2 separate regions of the Homo sapiens genome follow, and region 2 is linked to region 1. The links are contacts of gene promoters, found by promoter capture Hi-C in human tissues and cell types (Jung and others, 2019). All regions are on one chromosome and are shown on one strand. The core of a region is centred on a gene start or on the middle of the fragment in contact, and the rest is flanking DNA. Distances in the headings are between cores, read along the strand shown. Region 1 holds the start of HAO1 (hydroxyacid oxidase 1). Region 2 overlaps PLCB1 (phospholipase C beta 1).

Evidence for each region. Contacts are between HindIII fragments. The study calls those that stand out against the background at their distance.
Region 2: a contact is called between a fragment that was not itself captured here and the fragment with the promoter of HAO1 in region 1, in 2 of the 25 tissues and cell types used here (bladder and hippocampus).

Annotation. Positions count from the first base shown.
Region 1 is chr20:7,939,159-7,941,858 of GRCh38, forward strand. HAO1 (hydroxyacid oxidase 1) reads right to left here and starts at 1,300. Exons shown (of 8, transcript NM_017545.3): 1 at 1,128-1,300. The coding sequence starts at 1,264. The HindIII fragment of the contact is 11,188 bases long and covers 1-2,700 here.
Region 2 is chr20:8,396,356-8,399,055 of GRCh38, forward strand. All of the region lies in intron 3 of PLCB1 (phospholipase C beta 1), which reads left to right. Among named protein-coding and RNA genes, the nearest start is that of PLCB1-IT1, 150 kb to the left of the region's middle. The HindIII fragment of the contact is 4,629 bases long and covers 1-2,700 here.

The sequences.
Region 1 (2,700 bases), core at 50-2,549:
TCTCAGTCAACTTCCCTTCCCATGACTTCCCTGGCATTTGTTGAGCTCATTTGGGTTCCAGGCAAAACCTGAGACAAAGTCAAGGCTTGAAAGGGTTGGGGAGAGGCCGTATCCTTCACCCCATTGCCATTTTCAGTCTTCTACATGGATTTGTGGGTGAATCAGTGCTGCCTACCAGAGACCACCTTGGCCAGGATAATTTTATTTCTCCTAATTTAAATATGGAAAACTGATTTTGAGTGATTTTGTTGTAGACTAAAGAAGAAATCAGGGAGGAAGGCTAATTCTCTCCCCCTGCATATTTTCTGCCTTTTTGTCTTTATCACCATCAATGAGTACCCACAATACCGATTGCCTTTACTAACAGCCATAATGTTAGATGGATGAGACTGAGTGTAGTGTAGTGAAGGCACTCCTCTCTTGCTCCAGCAAATAAACCATTTTTGTAACTGCTATAAAAAAAAACCCTTTGAAATGATTTTATTTCTTGTTTTTATTACAAACAGAAAACATAAACCATGTCACCCACCATCTTGTGCTTTGAAATATGAAAGTCAAAGGAAAACTAATTTGGGAAGAGAGATGAAGTGCTTTGAAGGAGAGATGAAACAGCAAAGTTGAAAGATTAATGCTGCATAGACAAATTGAAATCTAAAGTGAAAGTTTAGACAACAGTAATCAAAATGAATGATAACACGAAAAGCCAGCAGGAAGAAAACATTTGAGCCAACAATCCAGTCTGGTTCATCCGGATAAGATGGTTATCTGGCATTTAATGCTGTTTCCTACACCATGAACATAAGCATTTACTGTCATACTAAGAAAAAGAAAAGTCATCCGAATTTATCGCTATTTTTACATGTAGTTAAATTAATTGTTGTCATATTTCCAAGTGAAGTAACATAGGTTTGGCTTTTGCAGTCAGTTCCTCAAGATTCACAGGCTTGGAATATTTTTTAACAATTTAAAGGCCCAAGATTTCTTACAGCCCCAAGAACTTTTCCCTCTCTACTAAGCACAAATCTGAACAAATAATTACACACCACCAACGTAAAACTAGGAGATCTTATTTTGGTACGGTCTTTGTGTAATTTTAAAACATGATTTTAAAAAATAAATTTTCTTACCTGGAAAATGCTGCAATATTATCAGCCAAAGTTTCTTCATCATTTGCCCCAGACCTGTAATAGTCATATATAGACTTTGGAAGTACTGATTTAGCATGTTGTTCATAATCATTGATACAAATTAGCCGGGGGAGCATTTTCACAGGTTATTGCTATCCCAGATGGAGTTCGTTGTTTTTTTTTTTTTAATGTATTGCTTTCTACATCCTCACTGTTCTGTTATTTGTCAATTATTAATAGACTTTTGCCAAAGTTCAGATTTAGTTCTCTGTTGCTTACATCAAGTGAGCAAACATTATATGCTTAGCCTTTGAAATTTCATTTGTAGGCTATCTGCCAAAGAACACCGAAGTCACTATCTGCCAAAGAACACCAAAGTTGAGGTTGGGAAGGCAGCAGAAGGTGATTAGGTGTCTATCACATTAAAAAGGGGAAAGGAATAAGTAAAAAATTAAAGACTTAGAGGAATACCTGTATGAAACCACTCTTGGTTCAGTTTTGCCTAAGGCTGCTTATTGCACATGGTCTGTGCCTGTGCTCTTTGCTTGATACCCAGAATAGGCTGCCCACTCATTTTCTTTCCACATTTGGATCATGCACAAATCATGTAAACAAGAGCTTATGAACTGAACGGGGCATCCATGAAATATGGGGCATCCGTGAAATTCAGGGCTTCTGCACAATATAAAATTTAGCTGATTACAAACATAGACATTTGGCTTTAACATGGAACATTAAGGCCAAATTGACAGCTAATTGTTTTATTCATTCTGTATATTTGAGGTTTACAACATGATATTATGAGATACATATACACAGAAAAATGGTTACAGTAGGGAGGCCAATATAATATATGTATCATCTCACCCGTAATTACTTTTTTGTGTGTATGACAAGAACAGCTAAAATCAACTTATTTAACAAAAATTCCTAATATGATACAATTTTATTAACTTTAGTCCTCATTTTGCACGTTTGCTCTCTAGACCAGGGGTCCCAAACTCCCCAGCATGGACTGGTACTGGTCCGTGGCCTGTTAGGAACCAAGCTGCACAGCAGGAGGTGAGCAGCCGGTGAGCAAGCTTTACAGACTGAGCTCCGCCTCCTATTGTGAACTGCACATGCGAGGGATCTAGGTTGCGCCACTCCTTATGAGAATCTAATGCCTGATGATCTGAGGTGGAACAGTTTCATTCCAAAACCATCCACCTACCCCCACTGCCCATGGAAAAATTGTATTCCACAAAACTTGTCCCTGGTGCCGAAAAGGTTAGGGACCCTGTTGTAGATTTATGTATCCTACGTGTCTACTATTTTGTATCCTTTGACCTATATCACCCCTTTTCCTCTTCCCTGCTTCCCACTAGTGGTATTCACTGTTTCATTCTCTAGCTCTGTGCATTTGAAGTCTTTTTTAAAACAAAATCCCACCTATAAGTGAAATAATGCAATAATTTCCCTTTTGTGCCTGGCTTATTTCACTTAGCATAATGTTCTCTGGGTTCTACTGCAAATGACAGGATTCCCTTCTCTTATAAGGCTGAATAATATTTCATTGTGTGTATATCTATAC
Region 2 (2,700 bases), core at 145-2,644, 460 kb after region 1:
CTTTAATGGCATTAGTTGGTATTAGTTGCATGTGGCAAAAATTTCATGCACTATTAATCCTAGCACTACACTGCAACACTAGAATTATGTGTCCTTGGCCTTAAATAAATTATTCGGTTGTATGATTGAGAAGAGAAAAACCAATTATTTTAGAGGCCAGTCCTGAATTATTGCCTTAATAAAGGTTCAATTTCAAAAAAATGGGAAGTTGCTCAGTCCAGTTGAAAAACAAGGTGGGAAGAGTAACAGCAAGTGAGTCTTTAATTTTGTCAACATCTGATGCTACTGTTAACACAAAAAGTTGCTTTGAAAAAAATTCAACTAAATAAGTTGCCTTCGTGGTTTAGTAATTCCAGATATACACAATCGTCTGTTTATTTTCCCAAAGATCAAACTGTGTTCATCTATATATTTGCATACGTAACATATTAAAGTTTTCTCATCTAACATGACACTGTAAGCATGGCCATGATTCTAAATATTTTTAATATTTATCAGTTGTATAGCTGAATAATAATGCATTGATTGGAAATCATATTAACTACTTACTATTTACTTTTGAGTAGACAATTTCTGTTTTATTTTTGCTATTATAGGTAAATCTGAAGCAGATATCTCTTCTTCATTTGGCGTTTTTATTCTTTGGTAATGCCTCAAATTGTAATCCTAGCAGTGAGATTACAGATCCAAATAGATCTAATTCAATCCATTATCACAGGTTTCTTCCTCATTTCCTCTTCTTTCATGTATATCTGTTTTTGTATAGTGGCAATTTTGATTCCTTACTGCATTAATGTATTCACTTCTTTGTCATAGTCTACACAAAATAATTCTAGAATAAAAATACTGTTGCTACTAATACAAGTCCACTAGAGAAAATCCAACGTTTCTTTGCAATTATCTTTATTCCTTATTGTATGCTTCACTAAGAATATATACTCCAAGATTATTAAAATTATTTTCTATAGAGTTATATTATTAATTTGCTATACACTTAGATTTATATATTTATAGTTACGTTCAGTTTTAGAGATTAAAATGCTCTATTGCTTTTATCAATTTTACATTTGGAAAGTATAAAATATTCCTTTGCCTCAGCATTCAAAATTATATAAAGAAGAATGCTCAGGGAAGTCACTCTCATCCATATCCTTCCACCCTATTCCTACCCACCTTCTGGTTTTCCTTACCATGTTTCTGTTTACAAAAATAAGGAAACACACACACAAACCCATACCTAGCTACCCAGTCCTCTCATCTCATTTAATAAAAAGTCCATCTTTCCCCAGTGAATTGAGACACCAGTTTTTTCAAAATATATGTAAATTGCCTCAGTCTTTCTTACACAAAATGTAACATTCTATCTATGTGCTTTTATAGGTTGCCTGTTTTACTTAATATAACGTCAATACCTCTTCATATGGGTCATGGGAATCTTTTTCATTCTTTTGTACAGCTGCATATTGCTCCACTATATGGAGGTTCTGTAGTTTTTTCAGTCTTCTGTGAATGAGCATTTAGGTTGTTTCCATTATTTTTTATTATGCATAAGGCTACAATTTTTTTTTTAAATGCCTTCCTTTACATATGCAAAAGTTCAGTTTCAGGATAAATTCCTAGATTTGTTTGTTTTGCTAACATCTTCATAGACTTTTTCTTTGTTTAGATTTTACCATTTTCTACCCCCCTTGCAGTGTATTACAGAATCTTTATTCACACAGTCTCACCACAAAGTGTATTGTTAAGCTTGTTATTTTTGCCACTTTGACAGGAAATGTGATCAATACATTTTAACTTACCTTTTTCTTACCTATGCATGAAACTAAGCCTCCTTTCACATGTTTAAGGACCATGCATGTATATACATACATATATTTCTAAAACATATATAAATATGTATTTATACACACATATATGTCTTAATAAATATATGTCATATGTTTTAATATGTCATAATATATGTCTTAATATACATAAATATGTCTTAGTCACTTTGGACTTCTATAACAAATTATAAATATGTCTTAGTCACTTTGGGCTTCTGTAACAAATTACCATAGACTGGTGGCTGAAATAAAAACATTACCCACAGTTCTGGAGGCTGGGTAGTCCAAGGGCAAGGTGCCAGCAAATCTCATGTCTGCTGAGGGCCCACTTCTTGGTTTGCAGTTGGCTGCATTCTCATTGAGTCCTCACATAGGGGAAAGCAGAGAGAGGGAGAGTTGACTCTCTAGTCTCTTTTTCCAAAGACACTAATCCCATTTTGAGGGCTCCACCCTCATGGCCTAATCACTTCCCAAAGTCCCTACCTCCAACGCCCTATCACGTTGGGGTTTAAGCGTCCATATATGAATTTTGAAGGGAGACAAACATTCACTTAATAGCACAATGCTCATTTGCATAATTTGCACTTTTTTTTTTTCATCTGGTATTTCGTCCTTTTTTTCTCCCCTTGGTTTTTTTGAGCTCTTTATATATCAGGAGAATTAGCTCTCTATCGTACCCTAGAGGTGCAAAAATGTTCTCCCGGTTTATTTTTTCCCTTTTGATTTTGCTTTTGGTGTTTTTTTGTTGCTGTTGTTGATGTTGTTTCTGCCTTGTAAGTTTTTGTTTTTATTTTTATCTAGTCAATTTATCAATATTTTATCTTATTGCTTTTGGCATTTGAGTCACAGTTAGTAAGTCTTTATTCATGCCTAG